3 separate regions of the Homo sapiens genome follow, and regions 1 and 3 are each linked to region 2. The links are contacts of gene promoters, found by promoter capture Hi-C in blood cells and fetal thymus (Javierre and others, 2016). All regions are on one chromosome and are shown on one strand. The core of a region is centred on a gene start or on the middle of the fragment in contact, and the rest is flanking DNA. Distances in the headings are between cores, read along the strand shown. Region 1 holds the start of COBLL1 (cordon-bleu WH2 repeat protein like 1). Region 2 holds the start of TTC21B (tetratricopeptide repeat domain 21B). Region 3 holds the start of B3GALT1 (beta-1,3-galactosyltransferase 1).

The links. Contacts are between HindIII fragments. The CHiCAGO score rates a contact against its expected background, and 5 or more counts as called.
Region 1: a fragment that was not itself captured here is called in contact with the fragment with the promoter of TTC21B in region 2 in 1 of 17 cell types (fetal thymus); the score reaches 6.2 in fetal thymus.
Region 3: a contact is called between a fragment that was not itself captured here and the fragment with the promoter of TTC21B in region 2, in 1 of 17 cell types (fetal thymus). The highest score is 6.4, in fetal thymus.

The regions. Positions count from the first base shown.
Region 1 is chr2:164,841,524-164,846,525 of GRCh38, reverse strand. It overlaps COBLL1 (cordon-bleu WH2 repeat protein like 1), which reads left to right and starts at 4,703. Exons shown (of 14, transcript NM_001365672.2): 1 at 4,703-4,816. The region is part of intron 1 of LOC101929633 (a long non-coding RNA gene); the gene reads right to left. RefSeq lists a silencer at 4,520-4,729. The HindIII fragment of the contact is 940 bases long and covers 3,107-4,046 here.
Region 2 is chr2:165,951,867-165,956,287 of GRCh38, reverse strand. TTC21B (tetratricopeptide repeat domain 21B) reads left to right here and starts at 2,512. Exons shown (of 29, transcript NM_024753.5): 1 at 2,512-2,603. The coding sequence starts at 2,583. RefSeq lists an enhancer at 1,748-2,497 and a silencer at 2,262-2,661. The HindIII fragment of the contact is 9,565 bases long and covers 1-2,897 here.
Region 3 is chr2:167,291,132-167,295,548 of GRCh38, reverse strand. B3GALT1 (beta-1,3-galactosyltransferase 1) reads right to left here and starts at 2,548. Exons shown (of 5, transcript NM_020981.4): 1 at 2,215-2,548. RefSeq lists enhancers at 828-1,440, 2,669-3,282 and a silencer at 2,384-2,433. The HindIII fragment of the contact is 4,094 bases long and covers 1-3,587 here.

The DNA of each region.
Region 1 (5,002 bases), core at 2,327-4,826, 1.1 Mb after region 2:
GCTACAATTACTATGGTTATTAAAAAACTACATAAACAATACAGCCTTTAGCTATTATATTTGACTTTAAAATGTTTAACAATTGGCTTTAGTTCCAATGGACAAAACTAATTCTGTCAGTTTTTATTATAATTGCATACACTGGACATCAAAGTAAAGATTTAATCATTTAAGAGTTGTTGACTATTTTTCATATTTTCCTTTGTGTATTTCTAACTTCAGCGCAAAGAAGAAAAAAGTTCTCAATGAAACAAAATCAAAAATTTTTTTTCATGAATAGACATTTCTGTGTTAAGGAAACTATAATATTTCAACAAACATATCTGTTGAGTTTATTCTTACCTACTAATTGTTGGTCAGTTTGAAAAAAAGGCATTAAAATAAGATTACAAATTGGAATAGGAGGGAAGGGAAAAGGAGATATACCCGTGATAAAGACAGCAGTGGCTAATTACAAAACCTGGCCCAGGATTCCTGACAGCCAAAGAAAATATTTTTGGTACTTTGAAATAAAGCTCTCATGAAGCATTTATATAGGGAACATCAAATTCTAACAACACTTTCTATGTGTTAATACATGTAGGAATACTCAAATTATGAAAGCACTACACAGAGATGAATGGATAATTAACTATTATGCATATATTACTGAATTGAGAATAAAGCTACAATTCTGACTTTCAGCTCCCTGTTTTCATCAACAAAGTCTTATGCATAAATAACATAACATATTTTCTGAGATTGGGCAGTTTCTATGAAATACAAAGTCTGAAATAAGACTTTTATTAAAACTGAAATGTAACAACTCTGATCTTGTTATATAAAACCACAAACACACACATGTACACAATCTAAGAAGACATAAAATAAACACTTCCTTTAGGTTGTAATGTGCAAAGGTGAAATGCACAGAAAGATATTAACCATCTTTTAAGTGTAATTTTTCAGTTTTAAATAAAGCTTTTCAAGTGGTACTTATAGTGGAATAAAAACATACTTAAAATAAGCATTTAAAAATGTTTTCATTATTCCAAATAGTTTACAAAAATTTTAGACAAACTCCAACCATTATGGCCCACTTTAACATGCCTATCTGCTTTTTATATAAGCACACAGGTATTTATTAAGCATGTAAACCTCCTTTCCATTTATTACTATCCAGGAGGAATATGAAACCTAGATTATTATTCAGAGAGATATATAGCTAAGTGGACCTTCATTTAGCTTCATTCTACCCATTGATTTTGGTACTAACCCCATTAGGTAACCACGTGAAGAATAAGTCTTCTTTCTCTAGTAAGACAAACTCACCTTCCATCTGTTCCATTTAAAATGGCCTACCAGCCCCTTTGAGTTGAAGTCTTTCCCTGAATCAAGTTCCTTTTAGGATTCTTCTGAGGAGGGAAGGCCTGAAGGTTTCCTTCATTCCTTTATTCAGTACACAAATACTGGTGGAGAGTCTCCTGTGTTCTGGGCTATGCTTTCAGGAGACAAAGGATAAGACGTGGTCCTTTAAGAGTAGGCTGGGCACTGTGGCTCACGCCTATAATCCCAGCACTTTGGGAGGCCGAGGCAGGCGGATCACAAGGTCAGGAGTTCAAGACCAGCCTGGCCAACATGGTAAAACCCCATCTCTGCTAAAAATATAAAAAATTAGCCGGGCACGTGGCACATGCCTGTAGTCCCAGCTATTCGGGAGGCTGAGGCAGGAGAATCACTTGATCCTGGGTGGTGGAGGTTACAGTGAGCCAAGATCATGCCACTGCAGTCCAGCCTGGGTGACAGTGAGACTCTGTCTCAAAAAAAAAAAAAAAAGAGAATAAACCCCTCCAACTCTGCATTATGTAAATGAATAACTGAAACAAAGTGTCATGGGTCCTTGCCCTACCTAACAGAACCTACTGGGGGCCAAGAAAGGGAAGGGCTACTTCTATTTCTGCAATGAGGGAAGTATTCCTGAGGGGATAATACCTATGCTTAGGCACTTAAAATGATCGGCTGGGTGGTGAAATGAGGGGGAGATTCCCAAACGGGGAAATTGAGCGCAATCTTGGAAACGTGGGCAATTTTGAAACAGCTCTGCATAACTAGAAAGATTGGAAAACAGCAGTTTTCTCCTGTTATGTGAAAAGATTTATAGCAGCCAGGCATGGTGGCTTATGCCTGTAATTCCAGCACTTTGGGAGGCTGTGGTGGGCAGATCACCTGAGGCCAGGAGTTCGAGACCAGCCTGGCCAACATGGTGAAACCTTGTCTCTACTAAAAATATAAAAATTAGCCAGGCGTGGTGGTGGTCACCTGTAATCCCAGCTACTCGGGAGGCTGAGGCAGGAGAATCACTTGAACCCCAGAGATGGAGGTTGCAGTGAGCCGAGATCGCATCACTGCACTCCAGCCTGGGCAACAGGAACAAGACTCCTTCTCCAAAAAAAAAAAAAAAAAAAAAAAAAAGATTTATAGCAAATCTGTGATTATTATTTTGCTAATCACTGGCTACAGTGAGGATAGCTTAGTACCATTATGTGAAGACCACCAAGCTTGGTGGTGCTCTTAAGTGGTTTTGCCCAACATGAGCTTATTTCTTGCTTATGTGGATTCTGTTGTAGGTCCTGGGACTCTCCAGGGCAGCTGTGCTCTGGGTAATAGTTTAGCATTCCAGTCTTGTGTCACCTTCATTTTAATACATGCTTTCATGATTGCAGTAGCAAAGGAAGGGAACATAGAGACTCAAACACTGGCAGTAATTTCACCAGGAAATAAAGCATTTCATGTCTGTTCACATTTCCACTTATCAAAGTCACAGGGTCATACCTAATTTCCATGGGGTGGAGCATATAGTTCTCCCTAGGACCAGAAGGAGGACAGCAAAAAGTGGTAAGCACTGAAAATGCCTTCAGTGGTTACGAAATGTTATGAATGTTTTATGACTAAGATTAGCCTAATCTTACTGGTATTAGGGTCCATAATATTACTAGTATGTCATAAATTAAGGCTGAAACTAATTAAAGATTTAATCTTGTCTTGTGATTGAAAGTTATGGACTTTCAAGTAGTTTCACTGTTACTCAATATTTGCATCATTGTCTGTGCAAGCAACTGTAAAAGCTTGCACAGCTCTGTATTCAGAAGCATAAATGATTCATGAAATTGTTTAAACAGAGTTATTGTTTAAAGACTAAAACCCAGAGGTATTTAAATAAATTGCTTTACTCTTAGTTAAAATCTCTAAAAGCAACTTTTTCTAATATGGTTCCAGTATTGTAATCCAAATGAGCCATGTGTTTTTTTCTTTTCATATTTAAGATGCACTGAAAGGACATTATGCACTGAAAGAAATAAATACCAATGCCTGCGTGTGGTAGACAAATGGCACATTGCTAGGCATTTAGTTCAGCAATCTTTTTTTGTTGCTGCAATGGATAACCAACTAAAGGAGCATTAATATCAATTTAATTGTAATACCTGCCAAATGTTATTCTATCAGTGGCTAACACAGGTTTATTACTTGATGTTAGTGCTACAACAGAAGTCCCCTGCAGGATGTTCCTTCCTGTAAGATCTCTCCATCAGTTTAATCCAAATATGTTTTTAAAACTCTAATTTTAAATTCATTTCTTAATGTCACGTTGTTTTCTGAAAACACATTTTTGGGCCCATCAGAATGGCGCGCATCTTAAAACAATTGGCGCTTATGAAAAATATAAAATATGTAAATATATTAGGGTGGTGCAAAAGTAATTGCGGTTTTGTCATTACTTTTTAAAAAAAAAAAAAATGGCAAAAACCGCAGTTACTTTTGCACCAACCTAGTACCTGTCTGTCAGGTGTAAAGAATCATCTAAAGGGCATGCACGTGGATACTAAAACGTACAAACAAGCACACAGCTGTGTCTGATTCCTTTACCCTTGTAAAAGTTCCAATAAGTGAATACAATCTATTACTTAATTCTTAGTTTATAGACTGTCATTAGACATACTGTTGTCCAGTTCTCATGTCAGAGCTGTTATAGGCTTTTACAAAAAATGCCTCTGAAGACAGGGCAAGCTTAAACCTGCCACCAATTAGAAAGATCTGTGTCACAGGTGCGCTTTTAAAAGAATGGCAATCTTAAAGGTCAAGTTAAAAACACAAATTTAAAAAAACGATCCTGGACGTCGAGGGTCGGACTCTAGGGGGGGCAAGCTGCAGGCCCCACTCTGCGAGTTTCTGACCGCATTCCGCGGAGGCCCCAATCCTCCCCGCGGATCCTGGCAAGGCAGGTAACCTCCCTTCCCCCGCACCTGTCCGGTTCAGGCGCACCAGCCTTCCCGAAGCGCAGCCTAGCGGTGGGAATGGGAACACCTCGTCTGGGAGCTTTCTTTCGGTTCAGCTTCCCCAGCCGGACCCCAAAGACCCGAAGCCCTGGGGGAAGGAAATTCCAACTTGCTCCCGGCCCACCCCCGCCCCGTTCCTCTCTCCGGCTCGCTGCTTCCCTCGCTCCAATGCCGCCGAGCTGGTCCCCACTTATGTGCGGCCGTGCTGCAGAGGCGGCGGCGAGCTCCCGGACTCCGGGCAGGGAAATGGGGCAGGGTGAGTGAGAGAGCGGGCTCCAGCGAGGCCCCCAGCGCCCAGCCAGCGCCCGCACCCCGCCCGCGGGACAGGGGAGGTGCTGAGTCGGCCCTGCCCGCGCTGGGCTGAGCCTCGCAGGGGTTGCCGCTTCTCCATTCAAGTCCTGGCTTGAGAGCCGAGCGGCAAGAGCGCGGGCCGGGGAAGGGAAGAGTAGGAGAGGAAGCCGCGAGGGAGAACAGGCGAGCTACTGTCTCCTTTGGAAAAGAACGTAGGAGCCTTGGGTGGGAAAAGAGAGATCAGCCCTCCCAACTTCTCTTCGGGAAAAGTTTTCCTAGGGCGTTTTGTTTGTGCAAACTCGGCCGGAGGAGCCTGGGAGTGCGCTGCCGGCGTGGCAGCGGTGCCCGTGCGCCCGGCCCCGCTCCTCCTCCTTTTCCAGCCCCGGCGGCTCCTCTCC
Region 2 (4,421 bases), core at 1,263-3,762:
TAACTAGTAATACAAGGACTATGCAAGTGTAATAAGTCTTATAGAGCAGGGGTCCCCAATCTGAGGACTGCAAATCAGTGCTACACAGCAGGATGGGGTATACAGCAGGACGGGGTACACAGCAGGAGGTGAGCTGCGGGGCAGGAAAGGGAGCGTTACCCCAAGCTCCACCTCCTTGTCAGATCAGCGAGGCATTAGATTCTCATACGAATGCAAACCCCATTATAAACTGTGCATGTGAAGGATCTAGGCTGTATGCTCCTTAGATAAGAATCTGATGATCTGAGATGGAATAGTTTCAACCCGAAACCATCTCCCCTACCCCTGTCCATGGAAAATTTATCTTCTGTGAATTGTCTTCCACCAAACTGGTCCCTGGTGCCAAAATGATTGGGGACCACTGCTATAGAGCACTACGTGTTTAATGGAAACTATTGGTTATACAATGCCTATTATGTGTCAGGAAGTTTTAATATGTCTGTAAGGCATTTAGTTTCTTTAGTAAATAAGGAAAATGAGGCTTAGGGAAATTACTTCCCCAAGTCACAAAAGTAGCTAGCGTAATAGGAGCTCCACCTCAGATGCAGAAGAGGGTATTCTTGCCACTACACTGTGATATTTTTATACCCATCCAGTTATGGTGATCCTTAAAGACTTCATGAAATTTGAAATGAACTCAGAAGAAGGAGATTTTCTCAGGTGAAGAAAGAGCTCAAAACAAAGTAGGGGAAAGCATTACCAGAAGAAGGAATATTTGTCCCACTGAGCGGAATAAAGGCTCCTTGAAGGGGAGGTAGAAGATAAGGCTTGAAAAGACGATGAGGTGAAGGGTCATGGATATCAGACTCAAAAGTTTGTAGCTAGTAAAAGTGAGCCGATAAAAATGTTACTGCTAAGGAACACATCGATTTTTCAGGAAAGACAAGAGTTTTTCCTGGCCTGAGATCCAAAATAAATTTCTTACATGAGATCTAGTAAGGGCACAGGGCACACCAAGTCACCGTGAGTGTCAAAGCAAATCTCAGAGTACTTTTAATCCAACAAACATTTATGAAACATCAGGCTTGGTGTTTTGTGCTAAATAATTCAACCTTAGAACAGAATTCAGTGAAGAGAATACGAGGCTAAATTAATATGACTTTCAAGATCTCCAAAAGGTAGGTTGATCATCTGTTCTGTTAACCATGATCCTGAGATATTTCCTTACAGATGAACTTTTCTCTTATAACCAAAGGTTTACAGTTCAAGATTATACACTTCATTGAGCACCCTGGTCCTGTGGTATTCTTTGCTGTATACCAAGTGCGGATTAATCCGCAGCTTTGAAAATCAAAGAGATATCACCAGTTGTTCATCACCACAGACATTTAGCTGGACTATAAATATTGGAAAGAAAAAAAAGTTGCTCGTGAAAATACGTGGTGAATTCCTTTAAAGAGAAACCGGTGAGAAATATTGCTTCACCTTAAAGCCTAGGATGGTAGCTACCGTTTTTCTCAAGACTGTCCTTACATAACCTATTGGCATGGGGAAAAAGTCAATGTTTATAAACTCCTTAAGAAACTTAAAATCTGGAAAAGGCAACTACGTATCATGTCAACTAAAGTAAGATAATTAACACTAGGATCAAAATTTGGAATCCACGTGAAAGATTCTGCAAAGATCACTTAAATCTCAGACCTTATGCACTATTTTAAATATTTATTTAAGCAGAAATAGAAAATCTTAGTCTATTATATTTCCATTTAATTTCCTGGACTTAAGAAATCTATGTGTGACTGATTGAGTTGCCTAATGGGGTGCAAACATAAAAATTTGCATTGGGATTCATTTTATTCTCAGTTTAAAATCAGTAGTATCATTGAAAACAAGACACTAATTTTCTGGAAGTTTAATTTATTTGTCCCTCTTATTATCGGGGCTGGTAAAAAAGGGCTAATTGAACACACATTCTAACAAAGATTGCAGCAACGCCTGCAAAGACGGGCCCAAGCGCACCGTATTTCTGTTAAGAACGTGTGATTTTTTTTTTCTGCGCCACCTTGTGGCCGTAAAACAACTTGCCCACGTGAAAGTTGACCGCTTTTTCCCGCGCCGGCAGAGCCTTGCTGAGAGCCGCACTGCGGGAATCCGCCTCCAGACAAACGTGCAGAAAATGGTGTCTTCCTTTACAACCAGTGACAGGAAACAGACTTCCCCTTCTTCATACTCCGTTTCCTTTATTCCTGAATTCCATTTCCTCGGCCCGCCCACCCACTGTCCTCAGACAGCCGTTTCCCAGTGTGACCTCCTTTTCCAGCTGCACTCTCCGGCGGAGGCCCTTTTCCCAGCCCGGACCCTCCCGGGCGGCCCTCGCAGCCCTCACCTCCGGGTCCCCGCCGCCCCTGCTCCATTACAGCACGATCCCCGCCACACAGGCCCGCCTCTCCCTCCGACAGCCAATCGCGGCGCGACCCCGCCCCTCCCGCTGGGGCCCGGGGCGCTAGAGCGCTCCGGGAGGCTAGGGGAGCTGAATTCTGCGTCTTCCTTTAGGCTGCGGCGAGACAATCCCCAGAGCCCCGCGGCCCGGCCTCGGGGCAGCCATGGACTCGCAGGAATTGAAGGTGAGCGGGTGAGCGGGTGAGCGGGTGAGCGGGCGGGCGGGCGGAGTTCCTTTGCGGCCTTTTGGCCCGGGGGCGCGGAGGGAGCTCGGGTGGCTTCGCTAGGCCGCTGTTTCCCTGCGGTGCCCCGGCTGCTCGGGTTGCGGGGTGGGCCTGCAGCCTCTGCTCACGGCCGGTCTCCGCGGGCCCTGCTGGGGAAGCCCAGGTCTGGGCAGCCCGCCCGCTCGGTGTTTCTGAATTGCTGGTCCCCATGCTGTTGGTTGTGTTTACTTTTGTATCATGTTTACTAGGAAAGCTTGGGTTACCTATGACACTGCGCCTCCGGGTGCGATTTTTAAGGACTTAAGGCAAACTAGTGTCAGCTCCCACACTGGACAGTAAAAAGAGCGCAGAAAGATTATATGAAACCCATTAAAGACGTAAGACTTAAAAGTGGAGGGGTCGTTATTTTAGGGTGATGGTCTTCTCTGTTTATCACTGACTCATTCATTCAGCAAATATTAATGACGGTCAACTTAAGAAAGGCTGATATAAAACAGTTAAAGACATGAGGCTTGAAAATAAAATAACTTTTCGGATGTTGGTCTTCTCTATTCATTTGTTCACTGAATCACTCGTTCAGCAAATATTTATGAAGGGTTACTGTATGTCCATTAGAAGCTGGAGATAGCAGTGAGCAAAACTGAACAGTTTCTGCCTTCTCAGATTTTACAGGCTAATTAATGCTGGGGAAAAACCCTAATTCAGTTGACTCAACAAATATTTACTGAATGCCTCCTATGTGTCTAGCACTGTTCTAAGCACTGAAATAATAAAACCAAGAAAAACTCTTCCAATCTTGGAGCTTACATTTGAGTAGGAGGAGTCAGACAACAAGTAGGTAAATGAAATGTGTATCCTGTGAGATGGTGATAAGTGGATGGAGGACAATTTGGCGATGTAGGAGGTTAGGGAATGCTGAAATGTCTTGTTTTTCTGCCTGAAGTTTTACATTATCCTCTGTTCTAGCTATCCCCCTATATCCTTACATTTTTTTATTCCCTTAAATGTATTATTTGCACTGCCACCCAAATGAACATTTTAATAAAAACACTTTAATGTAAAATGTAAAAATGGGCCTCCTCATTACTTAGACTTGAGGTTCAAGTCCAAGTACTTAATATGAGGCTTTTCACCCCACCTTCGTCTCCAACCTCATCATCCAATACTCTCTGTCTCACTTAAGCCTCCAGAGCAGAGAATAGCAAACTTTCTCAACAAAGGGCCAGATAGTACACATTTTAGACTTTATGGACCGTATGGTCTATCACATCTAATTGGCTTGTTCAAAACAGCCATAGACAATACTTAAATGAGCATGGCTGTGTTTCAATAAAACTTTATTTATGAACACTGAAATTTGACTTTCATGTAATTTTCATGTTATGAAATATTTCTTTTTTTTCCTTGACAGCTGGAAAATATAAAAACCATTCTTAGTTCACTGGCTGTACAGCCAGCCAGCCAGATATGGCCCACAGAGTGTGGTTTGCCAAACCCTGCTCTAGAGTATGGAGTGGCTTTTAGTCATCTTCATCACCACTGCCATCCCAATGTACCATTGATGACTTGTTATCTGTGTTGTTGCAGTTCCTCTTCCTAACTCCTGTACCTTCCTCAAGAATCATGAAAAGGAAATAGGAAGAGCGTGTACGTGTGTGGAGGGAGAATGAGGGGTTTGCAATTCAAGAGTCAGCTCTGAAATCCTCCCCAATAATCTTTCCCTTGATTTTAGTCATCCATCCTCCCCTCACACCACATTCAGTTTTCAATGCTGTCAAA
Region 3 (4,417 bases), core at 291-2,790, 1.3 Mb before region 2:
GTTAATTAATAAGTATAACACACTTTAATCCTATTTCCCCCATATTAACCTATGAGGAAAACAAAAAGTTTTACCAGCACATAGTATTGCATAAAAGAAACACAAAACTAACATAAACTGCTTAGCCTGTTTTAGTAACCTTAACAAAGTCCTGAAGGTTTCAATAACTAAAATATTGCAATATTAATCACCTGGAAGCAGGTAAATTTTGTATAGAACAACCACCACAAACTATATACTTTCTTTAATCATATCAGAAAACCACACTTTTAAGCCAGACATGATGAATGCTAAGAAGAAAATACTTAGCACCAATTTTTTACTAGTCCAAATGCAGTATGTGTGACTAAAATCATAATAAAAAAATCCATTTACAGCACAACAATTAAGTGATGAAAACCATGAGACCATCCTTGGACCCAAAACTAACATCACTACTAGTTTATCGTAAGTTATTCATCTGCTTTAAAATAACTTAGTTGTTAAATTGGGAGAAAATAGAATCTTTACAATGAAAAATAACTATCGAAAAATGCCTGACATATTTGGACAGCTCCCTCCTGATTTTCTATAGCATTTCTATTACGTGCCTTACTTTCATTTTCTCTGGTTTACCAAATCAGAAATGAGCCCAATCAAAGTGGTTTCTGCGGTTTGGTTTTGGGTATTTTTGTTGTGTTGTGATTTGTTTTGTTTTGGGACAAAAGATCCCTCTAGTGAAAGAGATTACGGAGCTACATAACAAGAAAAATGCTGTCCCCAGTTCAAGATCCGCCTCCCTGTATTGAGCCAATTTTTGTTTTACCAAAGCTGGCAGGCAGGGAGCTGATGTTCCACCTCCATTCCCTGCTGCAACCCCAACGCCAGTCAAGTACCGGAGCCTCGCCCCATCTGAGACAGTGGGGAGAGCTCCTTAGTATTGAGGTATTTCAAGAACTTTCCTAAGCAGATACTCCCACGGAGACAAGGAGCCACATAGAAAACAATCGCCAAGAGTAAGTTTGTGCGTCCTGAGCAGGGATGGAGAACCCACTGCACTGAACTACGGAGATTCGGATCTGGCCCAGTAGCACCATCCATTTGCAGCAGCGCAAAGAATTCGCCTTCTGCGGAAGGCTTTGCAGCACGGGTGGAACTCTCAACAGCTTTATCAAATAAGATAATCTAATATGAAACAAAAACGCTCTGGAGGCAGCTGGGTACCCTAACCTGGTTACTCTGCGTGGTTAACGTGTCCTAGGTCTGATGGACCAGACCCCAGCGGGCCTGAACTTTGTCGGAAAGCGGAGCCGCCAGGCATTTGGCAGCTGCCAGAGGCGCACCAGGCCGGGTCTCAACCTGGGAGGTCAGCGGGCCAAAGCGGCCTGGGGAGGCAGTGGCCCCACCTGGACGCCGGGCCGTCGGGCGTCGGAGCCCCGCTCTGCCTCCACCAAGCTGTCCCGCTGCGCCCTACGCCGCCACCAGGCAGGAGGAGCCGCTACCAGTACCTCAGAGTGGGACTCTCCATCCTCAAGTCTGCGCTCCAGAAAAGTGTAGCAAGCCTCCCACGCGGGGCTTCAGACACCTAAAAGTCGCCACTCCCCCAAGAGTAACCTCCACCCCCACCCCCACCCCCAACTTCTCTTTCCTCCTTTTCTTCAGCAATGTGGACCAACAGTTACTTTTCCCTCTCTTCCCTTCCCCTCCGAAGTCCCCGGGGCAAAGTGGGACTTTGGGGAGCCTCGTGGAACGCGCCTCTCCCCTGGCGCGCCAGGTCCACAGCTCCTTTTAATCACCGCAATAAAGTTCAATTTGCTCGGCTCTTTACGAGCCACGGTGGACTTTCCCGTGCGCTCCGTGCGTTCTACCTCCCGCCGAGCCAACAGCATCCTACTCACTCCAGCCCAGCTTGGGTCCTTGAAGGACGTCGGGCCACGCAGAGGGGACCCACTGTTCTCGCTGCAAAGTGCCCCAAGCCGCGCGCGCGCACACACGCATCCACATCCACACTCACACAATGCCATCCCCGCGCTGTCAAAGTCTGTGAGCGCGGAAGGGAGAACGCACCAGCTGGAGCCGCACGGGCGCGGGCAGTAGCACAGCCCAGCGTCGGGACACGCAGTCCGGGTCCCAACACCTTCGTCGGGATGCCCCGGCCACCACGCGCCTCGTAACCCCCAAAGACCACGCCAGCCGTCCCGGGGGCGTCGCGGGCGCTGCCGGACAGAACCTTACCCGCGGGGCGCGTGGTCTCCGGCCGCTGGGCTGGCGCGCGGGCCACAGGGACGCTGCAGCCAGGGTCCCGAAGATGCTGCTGCTCCGCTGCCGCTGCCCCGATCCCCGGCGCCAGCATCACTTCTCTGCCGCCCCCGCCTCCTCGTGCTCCGCTCTCTCGGCCGCCCCTCCCCGGCGGCCGCCTGCAAGACCGGCAGCGCCGGCGGCGCGGCGGGGTGGGCAGCAGCAGAGGCGGCGGCGGCGCCCGCGCGAGCTCGCCCAGCTGCACTAGCCGAGCAGCCGCGGCGGCAGCCGAAGCACCCGAGCCCGGCTGCGCTTCCCCGGCGATGGCTCTGGCCTCGGCGACTGACAACGCCCGGCAGCCAATCGCTGCCTCGCCCCGCTCGGCGGGGGGAGACCAATCAGAGCGGAAGGCCCAAGGTTTTCCTCCGCCTTTGCTCAGCGGGCTTGTTTCCGGGAGAGGCAGCGACGCTGCTGGGGTTTGGGATGGGGGAGGCGCGGGAGGGGCGCAGGATGGGGGACTCGTGGCCCCGGAGCCTTAGGTGAGGAGGGAAAGCCGGGCCCGCAGGGGTGGGCCTGGGGCGCTTTCTGACCGCCAGGAGCCCGCGGCTTGGCAGGAAAGGGCGCCGCGGGGTGACTTTGTCCCCAGAGCCTCGTCCCTGCGGTTCAGCGTCTTGGCATCGCTGGGGCGAGGGGGGAGCGGGGAGGGGTCGCGGGACCCGAGTACGAACGGCGCGGCTGGAGAGCGAATCCCAGGAGGTGGTCGCCGCCTTGAAGGAATCACGCGAACAGTCACCAGACAGCGCCCCCGTCCTTCTCCCTTTGGCAGCTGAAAAGAGTACTACTTCTTAGGCTTCGAACCACTCCTCATAGTAATCAGCCACGAAGTGTCCCCAGCTAGCAAAGAGGCACACGGAGAAATGTCGGAGTTGTAGGCAGAGTGGACCTTCCCCGTCTTCCCTCCAAATAAACGCCCCTCACCTCCCCACCCCAAACGCAACAAACAAACAAACAAAAAACCTTGAGAATGGGGAAAGATAATTTAAGCAGCCACCCTAATTGGTTGGCTTCCTTTTTTTCCTTTTTCTTTGGATAATCAAGTCTGAATGTTCTAATAGTTTTTTTTAATGTGTGTTTGACTCAAACACTAGCGAAGTAATGTTATTTAGCAATAAAAGAAAAAGAAAACAAAAGCCACAAAATGTTTTTCTGCACCACTCTCCCCTAAATTGTAATGATCTTCCCTTATGGAACATTTTTAGTTTCTTTAGTACAAATATGTCTGAATGGCTCAGAGTTCTACCAATAAGTTTATATTACAATGTTCTAGTAAAAAAAAAAAAAAAAGTTGTACATGAAGGTTGTAATAAGCTTGGGACCTTCCCAAAGTGACCCTCTGATAAATAGTCATACCCACCTCACAACGTTGTTGTGAGGGTCAAAAATCAAGTGTGTATATCAGCTACATAGTTGACAAATTGCTGGAATTCAATGTGTCTTAGCTATGATGCTGAAGCTCTTCTTGCTAATTGTATTTTTAAGGGATCCTTTTTGTTTGCAATAATAATCACCCTTTTCTTCACTTACCTTACTCTTTAAAAACTCCATATATCCTGTGATCACCAAAACAAACCCTGTCTAAATTTTATTAGCATTATGAGGAAAATTTGATTGCAAAATAGATGTGTATTGCCATCTTTTAGTACTATAGAAATTATGTGCATATCATCACTGTTTTTTCCAATTCTCTTATGCCTTCCTCCCCTTCAGTAATTTGACCAATGTAGTTTGGGAGCCAGATGATCTCTTCTTAAAAGAACTGGCTGTGCTAATAGATAAGTTCATTTTTTTAAAGGCTAAAAACAGAGAATATGGACCACACCACACTAGATTTTTAATCTAGAGAGGGGTTTTTGTTGTTGTTTTGTTTTCAGAAATTGTATATGTAGTTCTTTATTATTGTGCAATGACATAAAATCAGCACCCTAATTGACTATATGAGGTAATAAAGGGGAAAAATGAATAATAAAGGAATAAAAGAGTGAAGCTGAAATCTGGGAGAGAAAGAAAAATATATTTATTCAAAAATATATTTTATTCATGGGGAGGAGCTGATATTTGCAAAATGTAGAAATCTTAAAACTTAAATCTCAAAATCAAAATTAAAATGCAATGACAGTTTAGAAATATGCCTGATAAAAGG